Regions from separate parts of the Homo sapiens genome. Here all the other regions are linked to region 1. Evidence: promoter capture Hi-C in human tissues and cell types (Jung and others, 2019). All regions are on one chromosome and are shown on one strand. The core of a region is centred on a gene start or on the middle of the fragment in contact, and the rest is flanking DNA. Distances in the headings are between cores, read along the strand shown.

Region 1 (3,637 bases), core at 342-2,841:
TAGTCCTAGCTACTCCGGAGGCTGAGGCAGGAGAATGGCGTGAACCCGGGAGGTGGAGCTTGCAGTGGGCCGAGATCGCGCCACTGCAATCCAGCCTGGGCAACAGAGAGAGACTCCGTCTCAAAAAAAAAAAAAAAAATTAAGCATACACTTTTGAATGTAGGAGTCATATTTCAAACACAAAATGGTTGTATTTTCAAGGGAAAGTAAACTTTATAATTTAAAACATGGAAAAAGTGACATAAAATACATTTATAATCACAGAGTAAGAATAAAAAGGTGAAATCCACAGATTATTGACAATGTTCTGCAAAGTCATCTCTGTGTTCTTTCATCTAGTCCAGTTTTTAATGGCTTCAAAGGAGCATCTAAAGATATTTCTGGATAATTTTACTCTCATAAATAGGTAGATAGTAATGCTGGCATTCACTTATAAGTCTCAAACAGCAAAGTAAATAAAGCTTTTAAAGCATCTTCCTTCACTTTTCAATCGTTCTCTTCCTTAGTTCTGTTCCCTTCTCATAGTTTTCCTCTCCACTCATGTCCAGTTTCAAAATATTAAATATAAAACCTTTTCAACTCTTGTTCTTAGAAGAGAATTCCTGATGTTACAAGGAAGAAAGTAAGTCTACAACTATTAAGATTTCTGAGTTTTAATTCCGTAGCCACTTTGTAATGGCAAACTAAAATTTTAGGGACTGGGATGATCATGTTGTAAACTTAAGTGGTCATAAAAACAACTTTACTAATATTATTATTCCAGTGATTCCCGTTGATGCCTCCGATGGCTCGGGAAAGTTCTTACACCGCCCCTGTAGTATATGGAAAAGGAAAACAAAACAAAACACAAAACAAAAACAACAAAACCCTCAAAGCCTGTTTAAAATGGCTCGAAGTACCCTTTTAAAGACAGAACCCCAGAGAAAAACGCTGCCAATTCGTTGCTTTATTGTTCCCTGCCTGGGGACCTCAATAGCCTTTTCCATTAACCTTCCCTTCTTACGCAACGGTTAATGACTTTGGGGGTTGTTTTGCTTTCTGTTTCTGCTGAGTCACTAAATTTTGCCTCTTTGTCCCCAGGTGCTGCTCAGCATAAAAGTTAAAAGTGCAATTCAGGAAGTACTGGGATTCTGTGTAGAGCCGAGGAAACCATTTCCCTAAGAGAAGCTCTGTTCCTTGGCTTGTCCTTCCTTCCCGGGAAGGAAGCTTCCGAGGAACGAAGGGAGAAGCTTTGTTTTGCCTGCAGAAGCAGCCCTGTGCTCGGCTGAGGGTTCTCAGCTGGCTGTGAACTGCGGAGCATTGTAGGCGCCTGGCTGGCTCAGGCCAATGCAGAAGTCTCTCCCTTCTCCAAAGACCCAAATCCCCACAGAACCAGCTTCGAGTTACTTTCCCTTCAAGGGGATTAAAATAATTGTGATTTGTGGCGCTCTCCGTTCGCGGTGGTATTTTCCTGTTGTGTTAAATGCCTCTTATTAAGTAATAGATGTGATTTATGTGAACGACGAAGGGGTGTGTGGTGGATTCGGTGATTAATCAGTGAATTCCCATCCGCTGGCATCTCTCACTGCCCCTCTTGCGTGATGTAAGATCAGACGTACCCTGCATTGAAAAGTCAAGACACACGGGCGTCTCGCTCGCGCTCACACACGCTCTGCCTCCTCTCTCCCGCACGCGCGCATCCCTCCACCTTCCACATCCTGCTCCAGGCAGGAGAAGGCTGACTGGCTGGACTCATTGAGCTGAAGAATTTCCAGTGACATTTGTAAATGACGCCGCTCGATTCCAGGCTCCAAGCGGCCCCTGCCGCCGCCGCCGCCGCCGGGCCGAAGGTGCCGCCGAGCAGTCTCCAGCGCAGGCTTCCTTACCGGGCGACCACAATGTCCGAGTTTCTCCTCGCCTTACTCACTCTCTCGGGATTATTGCCGATTGCCAGGGTGCTGACCGTGGGAGCCGACCGAGGTAAGGAGAACACCTCCCCGCTCCCCTCCCCTGACTTCCTTGGCTTTCCTGCTGGGCGATGCTTGCAGATAAGTGAGTGTGAAACTTAAGTCCTTGCAGCTCCGCTCCCCGGGACCGGGTGACCACCGTGCGCTGGCCCTGTGCGGGGGTGAGAGGTGCGGTGCGGGATTTCTGAACCAAGTGCCTGAGTCCTCGGCACCCCCACAGCTTTTCCCTTTGGCCGTTTCCCGGTCCCCATTTTGTCCCCTCCGGGAGTGTGTGCACTTGGCTGTGCGCTTCTGTCCGCGAATTCTAAGCGCTGCAGATGTTGGAATGAGAATTCGCATTTCCGAAAGACTTCCCTCCGCGATGGCCCTCAACTGCGAGCTTTTGCGAGCTCCAGGTTCTCCGCGTTAAGCGTGTCCGCCCTCAACTTAGCTCCCAGGTTAACTTCCTTACCTGCTGCATTCGAGGTCCGTGGAGCGGCGAAAGCGCCGATTCAGGCCCCTTTCGTTTCTATAGCCCCTTCCTGGGGGCAGACTGGGGTCAGAGTCCTGTCATCAGCAGAGAGGCTTTTAGGACGATTCCGGGCGCACGCACCTGCTTGAAATTGACTTTTCGATTATGAGGGTCTGTGACACAGCCCAGGTGCTCTGAGGGGCTAACCCACCCCTGGAGTGCCTCTCTCCAGTCTGGCGCTTTGCTTTTCCTTTTTCTCCAAGCAGCTGGTGAATGGTAGAAGTTTAGAAGGGAATGGATATGGGGAGCAGAGGAGAAAGGAGGTAGGAATTAGAAAAAGCCGGGATTCTATAAACTTTTCATCTGGAAAATCAAGAATCCCTGTGCGAGTTTAATAATCTTTGACAACAGATGCACTGGTGAAAAAGGGAGGAAAATACTAGATGAATATTTGGGGCACTGGCCCTGGCCTTGGAATGGTTAACTGGTTAAAGTAAAATCAGAAGTATCATAGATTTTTTTAAAATCAGAAAATGAGCTTATATTGACTGGTATAGTTCAGCTTTTTAGTTTAAATAAGAGAGAGAGAGAGAGAGAGAGAGAGAGAGAGAGAGAGAGAGAGAGAAAGAGAGAAAGAAACCCAGATCCCAATGCCAAGCAAATAGGCAGAATGTTGCATTGGGAGATTTAGTTATTGTATTTACATGAAGCAGATTATGAATTGACAAAAAATATTGCTTCATTATAGGAAAGAACAGGGGAATGAACTGCAGTGTTTCTATTCAACCTGCTGTTGGCAGCCAGATTCTAGCCTTTGTAACATACCTACACGTGTTATTTCCTCTACCAGTGGTGGGACTAATCTGAGTTCCTTTAGGAAATCTGACACTTATTGGTGATAATCTTTTAAGCATATCATTGCCACCTAACCATAGCTTCTGAACTTGCTCAACTTGCCTTGAAGTTGGTGTGGAATGGTTGGAAACTATACTGATGAAATGGAAGCACATAGCTCGCCTTGAAATGATGATGTCTTTGATCTGGAACAATCAGCTCTCAACCTTTCTTAGGAAAAATGTTTGAAGTTGGACCAGAGCAGATGAACAGAATGGAGATTTTCAGCCCAGTATGCTAGCAAAATATAATGGTACTGGCAGACTACTGCTATTGGGCTCTTCCTGATTGAGTCTCCAATCTCCAGAAATTTGACTTCATCTAAAGCTGAGTTCTCAATGCTTTT
Region 2 (4,106 bases), core at 224-2,723, 200 kb after region 1:
TTAAAATCCAAGATGTGGTGGTTTGCATGTGCCAGAATGTGCCACGGGTTCCTGGAAATGACATGTAGTCTTTGAAAAGCTCTTTTGGGCAATTGGTAGATAAAATGATTAAGTCCTCATTTGCCAGGGTCATTTATTAATAATTGTATGGGTTTGGGTCCTCATGACATTTTGAAAGTCATCCCTATCTGGGATTCTTGTGCTGCATTAACTGTCTTTTTTTTTTTTTTTTTTTTTTTTTTGTTTCCATCCGCGGTTTCTCCTGGCTTGACTGTAGGCATCTGGAAAGCAGAGACTGTATTTTACTCATCTCTGAGACCCAGATGTTAACCTTGTGCTCAGTTCATGCAAACACCAGTATTTGTGGAACAAACAAAAGGAATGTCATTTTCACATATTTAGATGACACTGTAATTGCATACGTTCTGTCCTAAGAAAGAAGAATTTAAGGAAGCCAGAGCATACCTGAGATTTAGGAATTTTTAGTTTATAGCATTTTACTTCCAAAATAAAAATGATAGTGAAAGTTTAAAATTTTAACTCTCTAAAACTACAACAGACCGTGATGAACGAAGCAATCATTTTCCCATGAAAGAGTAAACAGACAAATCACATGTGTAAGGACTGAGGAAATGCATACCTACGATGTTGTGGTTGTGCTTCTGTCTTTTAAAAAAAATGGTTCAATCTGAAAAAAAAATCATTTGCATGCCTGTTATATGTGATTGACTTCTCCACTGTAACATCAAATAAAATAATCAAATTGATGATTCGTAGCTATATGATGATAGGAATATTAAAGTATGTGACACCCTATGAAGTGCATTGTTGACATTTTGTGTGCATGTATTATGTGTGTGTTATTACAGTTGTTATTTCCTGGGAAGGAATGGTCGTGTACGTTAGTGGAGGTTTGTATAGCTTTTGGCATTGGAAGTGGTCTCCTAATTTAGTCTTAAACCTGACAGTATTTTTCATATGTGAGTGTCTCTGGAGCATTTGAAAAAATAGTTTATCCTTACCTTTAAATCTTCTGCTAACTATATATTTCAACTTCTGGGTAGCTTTGATGATTCTAGACAAGTGGCTTGCCAGACACCTAGGTCAGGATCCAGGCAAAAATGAATCAAACCACAGACCCTCTAAGGCAGCTGTCTATTTCTCAACAGGAATATGCTCTCCTACAAAGATACTTTTATCAGGTTAACAATGTGGTATCAGGGAGATTTCAGGGCTGTACCAGGCCAAGCTAATAAAGGTCTATAGTGAAGTTGAGCCACAGTCACCCTGACTTACATGTTTTTGCTCTTGACCAAGAATAGCTGAGGTCAAAAGTAGAGGACTTACTTGTCACAGTGATCTTCTCCTGCCTTTCCTGCTCCAGTCTTTGAGTTGTACTTTTGATTCTATTTCAAGACATAAATTCTGCCATATGAGCCTGAAAGATTTCATGAAATTGCCAATTTCATGCTTCCAACATGCCAAGTTCTGAGACAGTTTCAAAGCCAAATCCAGAAGCAGATATGAGCTCTGAGTGATATGGTTCTGCCATCAGATACCAATATGTTTGACTCAGAATGTCTGCCTTCAGATGTACATGTGATAGCAGTAGGTCTGTAAATTTTGAATGTACCTTTGAAAGAACAATATAAGCATTAACAAATTACAAAATATACAGTATTCAGCCAATGACAGTTGTTGTTTCAAAGCCTTTATATTATTACTCTCACTTCCTACAGACCCAAATAATGGTCTACAGGTTTTATTTTTCATATGTTTCAATGCCATGATATTATTTAAAAATATTTGCGTACTTCTGTGCATACAATGTACAATACAAAAATTAATAAATAAAAACCTCTCTATTAAAATGTAATTTCTGAGGATAGGGAGAATATATTCAACTTAAATCTAAATGCATATGAAATCCTTTAAATATTGTTCCTTTCCTGAACTATATGATGGGGACAAGGTCATCAAGACTTGCCCTGTGGCAAGTTGCAGGGCATGTTTGGGCTGCTGCAATGGAAGCTATTTTTTTCTGTAGTCAATGTTGTCCCACTACACTTTGGGGAGAATGAATGACAGCATAGCCCTACTGGAGTGAGCTGAACATAGACAGCTGTAAACAGGAAGGGACAGGAAAAATTCCTGAAGGATGCATGGTAGATGGTAGAACATCAACAGCTTTAAAACATGGCAGTGTTTTGTTTTTTTTTTTCTTTCTTTCTTTCTTTTTTTTTTTTTTTTTGTAAAGCCAAGTTGGAGTTTCAGTTTGGCTAATGCTGCTAAGGACAGGATGACTATTATTGATGCTGTAGCTTGGGGGGAAGATGGGGAAAAGCAGAAGACACATGTAATGTTAGCAAGTAAAACTCAAGAAGGATTTATGATTCTTCCATCAGTCTTTTCATGCAAGTGCAGAAAAGCCTCATCAATGGCATCAGCAGGCTGCCATATGTATTAGTCAGAGTTCTTAGCTGCAACAACTGAAAACTACTCCAGTTAACTAAAACAAAGAAGAAATGTATTGAAAGATAGCATAGAAAAATGGAAGCTTGGAAAAGTAGATTAAAAAGGAATCAAAAGAAGCATGGCACTGATTAGGATATGCCTACAGGTACTTACCACTCATGAGTAGCAAAATCAATGAATGTCTACCATATAATAAGAAAAATATTATCTGATGAGCAAAATATGGACATGTTTTGCTCTAAAAAGTCAAATTCTTTTTTAAAAGATGAAGAAAAGTAAATTAAAATTTTATAAAAATATCGTTTACTTTTTAAAAATTCAAAACTTTAGACAAATTTAGACAAACAGGTAGAGGACAGTTCTGAAGTTTACTTCTTAATGGTGTTCTCAAAATTCACAACATTTACCCATAGTTCTTATGGTATATGACTGTTTATAATAATTCAGCAGTCAAATTGATGTATGATGGTAATCTATTAGGGGAATGGGTCATCATTTTCTTTCTAAAAGTATTGTAATCTAACATCTTTTAAGAAGCAATCAACAGATATTCATTGATTATGTAGTATATGCCACATAGTATTTAAGGTGCCATATGGAACCCTTACCTTTAAGAGGTTTATAAACTAATCAAAGAGGCAAAAGGTATGATTCTGATTCAGTAAATAACAATCACACTAACAATCAAAGCAGTCTACTTTCTAAAGAGAGTCTTTTTAAAAATTTGACCATTATTCTGAACCTAATTTTGTATCATATGTACATACATTCTTTATCATTACAGTAAAGGTTTATGAAGAAAAAAATAGTTCACCTTGTTAGGATAATCACTAAGTGATCTTAGGACACTCTTTGTATTGACAACGTTGTGGTTAATATAGCTCAATCCCCAGGATCGATTTAGCAAAAGGAGATGAAATTAAGGAATATTATCTATTTGAAGGAAATACATATTAATTCCAATTCAGGCCTCACCACTACCTACCTATTTTCAAATTGTCTGTAGAATAAACAGCAATATGTGAACTTTGCTTCAAAGTAGATGCCAATATGGGCTATCAAGTTAATCCTTAAGACACTTGCTGAAAGATTATATGAAGTATGTAGAAAGGTGGGTGTGTGAGCTATCTAATAGGTTGGAAGTGGTGACAGTTAAGATATATAGCTGGTTTGGAATTTGGGTTATTATTTTGTTTGTTTTATTTAGAGTTTTCAGATCTGGAATATTGTAAGTAGCTTCAGTTGGCTACTTAGTTTCTAAGCGCTGTGCTCATGGATACAATAGAGGGGAAAAAAGTCAGACCTTCTTTCTCAAGGAAACAGAACATAATCACTAACACATTTACTCCGTAAGTCACAAGACCTAAAGCTGTGGAGACATTTGTAAGATAACTAGGAACTTCTGTATTTACTTCTGTCACTTGGAAGCTATAGATATCTAGCTTTCTCGCAACAAGGATCAGTAGTATTTCTTTGATAATGTTCAGAATGATTTACATTTATTAACACTCTTCATGTATTTATTTTCTGTATGCATGTTGAAATAACATTTAATGTGACTGAGAAGAGAAATTATTTACATGTTGATTATTTTGTATATCAAGATGACATCAGTCACTAAAAAGGAATGA
Region 3 (3,961 bases), core at 1,323-3,822, 150 kb after region 1:
TTTGAAACTTTTATAGATTTTCACTGTTAAAAATGTACTATTTTTGAAAAGAAAGATGCCTGGAGAGGATGACTTATTTTATTTATCCATTCATTGTAGTAACTACTTCTACTTTATGCCACTAAGGCACCAAACTCCAAAATAGGTAGAATAAATTGTGTTATGATAGGTTCATCCTTTCTCAATAAGAGATAGGGGCTCAGTAAAAAAAAATATAGTTTTATAATCAATTGTGTTGTCTGCCATTGGCATAAAAGAGAGGTGAAATGCATAGGGTTTTGCCCTGATGGAACAGTCAAATTAAATCATGTATTGGGGATTAAAAATAGTAACGACAACAGGAATAAGACATCAATGCTTGGGAGTGAGAGTCTGTAGCGGGGACCAATTTGTGTGTGTGAGTAGCAGAGAAAGGGGAAAGGGTAATGACAAAGTATCTATAGAAAAATACGTCCCAAATTTTTTTCTGAAGTGAGATATTTTTTCTACTTCTGTCCATTATTTTTACTATACCATGCCTCAAGTATTATCTCAACCCAAAACATCTCCTGTGGTTCTCCTGTGATTTACAAAATGTTCTACATTATTTTGCTGCAGAAAATCATTGTCTTTTCTCTTTCCTGTTCTAGAACACTATTTAGTGTTTTTATATTTTTTCTCTTCAAACTGGCTACATTTTTTCTTAAATGTGAATGAAATTAGTCATAACATCAGCTCTCTGAACATATAATCTTGTTGAAATGTGACAGAAATGCAAATGAAATGTAAAGCTTGTTTAGCATAAAAGAAAATGGATGCTCCTTTTCAAATACTACATTGTTCTAAATATAAACTTTATTCATACAACTTTTCAGGCCACATTTTGAAGTCACGCTGTCTTATACATAGAAATGACTTTATTTTCAGGCAAACAGGATCCTGTTATGTGAATAACTAAGGTGAGACAGTGCAAGTTCTTATGATTGTTCAAACAATTTAATGCAAATTTTAGGTTAAAGTACAAGTGTTTTCCTTTTCTTAGATTACAAATACATAATACTTCAATATTTCCCACTGAATTCATTCTGTAAAAAGATCATAATAGCCGAGTTGTTCACAGAGATAGAGCAAAATTAGTTGTGGTTTTAGCGTTCAAATATAATTAAGAATGAATATATTTCACAGTGGGCAGTGGTATTTGCACTGTAGGGCTTATATCATCTGAAGTCACTCTAAAGTGTCTCCTAAAGACTTCCTCCTCCAGGAAAAAATCTCTAATGCTTTACTTTTATCATGAAGCCTTCAAGCTCTGTATTGTGTTTGTTGTGGCTCCATATAGATCTGCATAATACATGTTTTAAACTAATCTTTGGCAACTAAAAATACTTTCTTGAATGCTTGTTCTAAATTAGATTTCCAAAGAATTTGGACCATGGGTTTAGATATCAGTCAGCCATTAGCCCACTAGAGCCTTAAGACATTGTCTCCACCTACCCACCTACGGAGAACTGTACGGATTGAGTTAGCTATAATCTACACTACAGGCATAGGTTGTGGAGAGGTTCTATGTTAATTAGGGAAATGCGAGTTATTATTAAACAAAAAGCAATATTTAAGGATCTGAATCCCCCCAAAATTTTTACTTGGTCAGTGATAGTCTAACATGGGTATTTCTGGTGATTGGAAAGGTGAAGGGCTCTGCTCCATTCTGTCTTTCAGGAATCTAAGAAAATGGAGGTTCTGCCATTTTCAAAGACATGACTTTCATTGTCTCCTGGGATGAAGGTGGAGATACCCAGCAAACAGAAGGGAGAGCAGGGAAGTAGGGGAAAGACACACCTCCTTTTTAATTACCTTGACTAGAAAAGAAAGACAAGCATCTCTTTTGCTTATATCCTCTGTATAAGGACTACTCACATGGCCACACTTAAATGCAAAGGAAACCTAGAAATCCAGATTTTGGCCAAGAAGCCACTTCTGGCACTAAATCTGCATCAAGAAAAAAGAGTAAACATCTATGTGATCTCCATGCTTCCATACTTGTTCTCCCTACTACTGCCCATTCTCTGTGCAGCACCTAGAATGTTATTTGAAAAATACAGATCAGTTTATTTAAATCCCCTGCTTATAATCTCGAACACAGAATAAAATGCCAACTCCTAATCAAGACTGTAAGGGAGTGATTCTCTGGACCCCTCTTAACTCTGTGATCTGATATGCTGTCCTTCTCTCTCTTGTGCCTCATATTTTAGCTACACTTAACTTCTTTCAGACCCATTTCCATCCCAGGAATTATGCAATTACTGTGTCTTTTGCCTTAGTTGATCTTCCTGAAGATCTTCACGTTAGACTTGTTATCATTGAGGTTGCAGGTCCAATGCCTAATCCTAAGAGAAGTTTATCCTGACCACCCTAACTAAATGAGCAAGCTCCCAACCAGCCATTCTATACCATGGCCTTGTTTGATTCTCTTACTAGTATCTGTCAGTCCTATGATACATAGTACCATAAGATTGTATAACTGATCTGGGCAGTAGATGGTCTCTTCTCATCACTCATTTTACAAATGAGGAAACTAAGCCCCAAATACATGCTGACTTGCTTAAGGTCACGCAGTTGTTAATGGCAGAGCTGAGACCCATAATAGATATTTCCAACTTTTATTTTATAAAATATTTGGAGAATGTAAGATATAATCACCGAATATTTGCCTGCATAAATTGGTATTTTTTTTTTCAGAGAGAAGGAAACCTGCTTCTTAACAGACAATAGGTAGGATGTAGCTTTTAAATAAATACCAGGTTCAGAGACAAGTGAAATGTCAAAGTGAACATAGTCTTGAGTTGTGCTGTCCAATCCAGTAGTGTCTAGCTATATGGGGCCATTTAAAATTCAGGAAAATTCACAGTTGATTCTTAATTAACAGTTACACTAGCAGATTTTGGTTCCCAGTAGCCACATGTGGCAAGTAACTTCCACATTGGACAGTGCAGGGAAATATTTCAATCCTCTAGAAAATTAAATCTGATAGTGCTGTCCTATTGATTTGTCTTATACTCTCATCTGGTTTGTGATCCTTGGTTTTGAATTTCATAATTCCCATTTGCTTTCTAATTATTTTTACAACCATCTTTCCAGTTTCTCCACTGAATGTCAGATACAGGCTTTCAACAAAGCAGATGAGGTGAGATGGGGAGAGGGGTAAATCTCTAGTAAAAATGTTATTCATAATTTGTATTTGTGATAATATATATTTTGATGAAAATCTGTGGTTTTCTTATATCATTGTATAAAATAGGACAATAATAACTTAAACCCACGTAATTGTGCAAAGCCTTTCTAGGACATTTTATTGTAGCATTGGGGAACTGCATCATAAGGTTGGTGGCCCTCTATCAGGCAGTCGGGAACTGTTCATGTTATTCCTTTTCACCTTTGTTCTAGTTGCCTAGTGCCAAGGACAGATTTACCAGTTTACTGATTTCCAAGGTAATGAGTGACATTCCTAGATCTCTCAAGGGCATTGCTAATAACTCAAGAGTAAGCAGTTCAGCTTCTGTTTCTTAGGCTTTATAATTGGTGATGCTCTTGTTTCTCTCACTCATACTAGAGAAAGAGTAATTTAGGATATTCAATGATTTGGACTATTGTATCAATTATACAAGGTGACCTCAAATATAAAGAGGTTCTCCGTTTATCATTCTTGTTGTGAAAAACATATTAATGAGTGAGAACAGACATGACAGAGTAAAAACCAATTACAAGAACTGGAAAATCATGTCAAAATTAATATTCTTCTGATAATGGGCATGATGATCACTGTCATTTTCTAGGCTTGGATATGCATGGTTTGCACTTCACCTGCAGTTTTTCCTCATCCAATTTGGTAAGCAGTTCTGAGGCAGTGTCTGAACTATTGCATTATCCTAATAACTATACTTTGCCCAGGCCTGAAAAAATAATTTAAATGGAATATTCCTGA
Region 4 (3,993 bases), core at 822-3,321, 230 kb after region 1:
GTATCAATGTATGAAAGTAAAACATATGAATGATTGAAAAGCAGTGCCATCACCGAGAATTGAGTTCTCTATGAAATTTGACCTTTCATTTACATTTAAAATAAATTATTTTGAATACATAAATTCATGGAAATTTATTTAAATACTTCTCCAAAAATAATTGCTTGGGATTCATTACAATGCTATAAGTAGAGCAGATACACAGTAAAGCAGTTTAGCTAATTTCATATCCCAAGTTTTATGCCAACTGAACTATACATTTGATTGTATTGATTCTGAAATTCCTCTACAGCACCACCCCTGTTGAACTGCACACATCCCTCTATAAATACAATCTGTTTTGAAGGTGTAAGTCTTTTAGTTATTTTCTAAAGTTTGCCAAAGTGGCATGTGTCTCTGCCAAAATGGGAAACATGGGACGATTTTTGTGCCTCTAGGTGGCTCTAAAATGGCATGCCACCATCTGCCACTGGGCATGTTCTAACGATAAACATTTAACATGCTGTATCTAGTTTTACAAGATTACAAGTATTCTGAGTCTTTGTCTACTTTGTAACCACAAAGAAAGTTAACACACAAACACACTTACACAAATATGCATGCACACACCAAAACACACACAATGAAGCTTTTACATCAACTGTTTCACTTAAGGAGAAAATTATTTTATTATAATGCTTTGCTGTTTATGTGATGTTAATGCAATAATCAATATACTATCAACAGGAAGATGAGCAACATAAAAGTCACATCAGTATCTTCTGAGGTAGATTTCTATTTAGTTTCTTCTTCAGAGGTATTAAAATTTGCAGATTCAGTATTGTAACAATTAAGATAAAAAAACTTGTTTGCTGTACACTGACTCACAGGTAATCACTGACACCAGGTTATCAAAACTTTCTTCGAAAAATATAAATATTTGAATGCAATTTATGTGAAAAGAGTAGTTTGCTTTGTTTTATACATAATCCAGTATGGTGAATTGCATATACGAAAAAAGAAGAATGAAGTAGATTCTCACCATGGACACTCCATAATTTGTGTCGTGTCTATATCATGCATTGTTTTTGTTTTTTTTTGTTCTGTTTTGTTTTTCAATAAGAATATGAGGTACAGTGTTTGAGAACTTTTTAAAAAAATTATTTTAGTGTACAGACCTAAAAGTGCTCTGTATGTTTCATTACTGCTCTTTTGTTTGGTGATAGATCCCTGCCTCAAATAAATACAGTTCTATTTTAAATTCCCTCTCTCCCTCCATCCCTCATTTTCTTCCCCCTCCCACTTGTCTAGTCCTTTTAGAGATGTATATACACACAGACACACACACACACACACACACACACACACACATCTCTTGTCTAGTCCTCTTAGAGATGTATATACACAGAGACACACACAAATTTCTTATCTAGTCCTCTTAGAGATGTGTATACACACAGACACACAAGCATCTCTTGTCCTCTTAGAGATGTATATACACAGAGACACACACAAATATCTTGGCTAGTCCTCTTAGAGATGTTTATACACACCTAGCCACACACACACACACACACACACACACACACACACACACATCTATTCAAACCAGATCCATTTTCTCCCTGTAAGATGGTTATATGAATGAAGGTGGCTTGATTCTCACACATGGAAGCATTCTACTTAAGTATTACCATGCTGACCATGGTTCCCCTTTGCATCCTCCTTTCCTCCTCATTCAGCCCTAGATTCCTTTCTTGATCAGTATCCATACTCACTTCCAATCATGCTTAAGTTTATCTCCAATTTCTCCGTTTGTTAGAACCATCACTTGACAATTTAAGACAATTGTCTTAAATTTTGCCTGCACCAAAGCAGCTGACTAGTTATAACTTGAAAAAAAAAGTACAAAACCTCGTTGATTGGACTCACTTCAAAATTTATCATCACAGATCTCAACTGAGCCCTCAATACTGCCAAGTATTCCCATGATTGTACTTTTTAATAAATTCACCTTTGCACTCTTTATGTTAACTCTGTTCTCTAGCTTACTTCGTTATCTCCATTCAACTCCTCAGCCTTCCCACCATTACAGCTAAAGAAGATGCCTTTGGAGCCAGCCCTGCCCTTTGTCCTAGACATTATATTTTCTCTTCTCTCAAGTATTTGAATCCAGCAATTACCCTCTAAGCACCAATTCCTAACTCTGCGGAGTTTTTCATTTCAATGCACAAAACTACCTTAATATCATCCATCTTAAAGAAAAACAATGCACCCTTTACCTCTGGACTCCCATTATTCTGATCTCCGAATTAGCCGTATTTTTAAAAATATTGTCTATACTATATGAATGTTCTTGGTCACTGCCCATTGTCTCCTTAATTCAGTCTAATTAGGCTCTAGCTCCCATCATTTTTCTAGTTAATGAAAACAGTCCAGAGTTTACCCAAGTAGGTGGTCAGGTCTCTGTCCCTGTCTTATTAGACTTGTCAGCCGCAATTAAAACAGCGTACATTTCCTTGTTTCTTGAAATGTTTTCTTGTTTAAACTTCCATGACATGACATTAGTCTGTCCTGTTGTCTGTGTCCCTCTAGTTTCTCTAACCTTTGCTAGGTTGCCTTGACCAAAATATTTCATAATTTTCAATTACCTGAGCTTGTTTCCTCCTAGCTATCCTCTCTCTTGCTTCATTCTTTCCATAGGCGATACCATTTAGTTCATGTCACTGCATGTCACATTGAATTCCTCAAATTTAGATGTGGAGTCTGGACCCCATCTCTTAAAATCAGACTGAATATCCACTGCCTCACCAAGGTCTTCACTTGTATAAAGAATAGACTTCCAAACCTAACAGTTCCAGAAAGCACTTAGACATCCAAGCTCCAAATCGTATGCCCTCCAGAAGCCCTCCTCATTTTAGCAAATGGGACAACCACACACCACCTTTACAGGATAAGGCCTAAGATATATCCTTGATTCTTCCCTACCCTCTTGCCTCACACCCTTGCTATCAGTAAGTGCTGGTGGCTGAATCTCTACAAATCCACCCTGAGCTGACCACGTTTCAGCATTTCCAAAGCTAAAATTGAAAGCTACACCATCATTGTACCCAGCCTGGACTACATAAACAGCCTCCCAACTGTTCTCCCTGTCTTCTCTCCTCACTTCCTACAGCTCATGGTCCATATTGCTACCACTGGTCTTTCTGAATTATCTATCACATAATTTTGTTTCTCTGCTTAAAATCTTGTAATTGTGTTTTATTTCACTTGGCATAAAATCCAAACTTGACATATGATTCTATGCGTTTTTGCCTGTGGCTCCACTATCATATCTTTCCATTACCCTTCGTGCTCTCTGGTGTTTATTTCTCCCAAGGCCCCTGACATTGATCTTGCTTCTTCTCATGATGTTCATTCCCCAGATGTTTTCGTGGCTTCTCCATTCATCTTCCATGATGAAACTTGAACATTATCCTCTGATTACCCTAAACAAGTAACTGGTCCATCAGTTACATCTACCACGTAACTACCACATTACTTGTTTCTTTATAATACTGTTTAGTAAAGTTATTTGTTATCACATTTTTGGTGTGTTTATGGCTCCTAACTCCCAACCCCAAATCTGTAAACTCTTTGTAGGCAAGAAAACTATTTATTCTTTAAACGTTTCACCAATGCCTAGTGTACTGCCTAGCATGTAGAAAATGCTCAATAAATTTAATTGCTTGACCGACTAGAGCAAAATAGATTAATTATTCTCAGTATTTTTTTAATTAAAAATTCCATCTCATTCACAACTTAACAGATGTTAAAATATTAACTGTCTTTTCTTGCTGGTATTTTCTAATTTTTCCTATACCAAAGAGGCTCCAAAAATTTGTTTTTATGAATATATTATTCATGGGAGGGTCAGTTTAGTGGCAGAGTTAGATTTTTTAAGATAGTAGAATTTCATGAGATGGAGTGAAAGCTCTAGTTAGACATGGACCTCAGAGCTGGAAGCCCAGAATC

What was found. Contacts are between HindIII fragments. The study calls those that stand out against the background at their distance.
Region 2: a fragment that was not itself captured here is called in contact with the fragment with the promoter of LRP1B in region 1 in 1 of the 25 tissues and cell types used here (mesendoderm cells).
Region 3: a contact is called between a fragment that was not itself captured here and the fragment with the promoter of LRP1B in region 1, in 2 of the 25 tissues and cell types used here (H1 embryonic stem cells and hippocampus).
Region 4: a contact is called between a fragment that was not itself captured here and the fragment with the promoter of LRP1B in region 1, in 1 of the 25 tissues and cell types used here (hippocampus).

What each region holds. Positions count from the first base shown.
Region 1 is chr2:142,128,970-142,132,606 of GRCh38, reverse strand. It overlaps LRP1B (LDL receptor related protein 1B), which reads left to right and starts at 1,591. Exons shown (of 91, transcript NM_018557.3): 1 at 1,591-1,959. The coding sequence starts at 1,878. RefSeq lists an enhancer at 524-1,723. The HindIII fragment of the contact is 3,160 bases long and covers 1-2,671 here.
Region 2 is chr2:141,926,049-141,930,154 of GRCh38, reverse strand. All of the region lies in intron 1 of LRP1B (LDL receptor related protein 1B), which reads left to right. Among named protein-coding and RNA genes, the nearest start is that of LRP1B, 200 kb to the left of the region's middle. The HindIII fragment of the contact is 5,827 bases long and covers 1-4,106 here.
Region 3 is chr2:141,979,705-141,983,665 of GRCh38, reverse strand. All of the region lies in intron 1 of LRP1B (LDL receptor related protein 1B), which reads left to right. Among named protein-coding and RNA genes, the nearest start is that of LRP1B, 150 kb to the left of the region's middle. The HindIII fragment of the contact is 6,484 bases long and covers 1-3,961 here.
Region 4 is chr2:141,903,350-141,907,342 of GRCh38, reverse strand. The region is part of intron 1 of LRP1B (LDL receptor related protein 1B); the gene reads left to right. Among named protein-coding and RNA genes, the nearest start is that of LRP1B, 230 kb to the left of the region's middle. The HindIII fragment of the contact is 4,185 bases long and covers 1-3,993 here.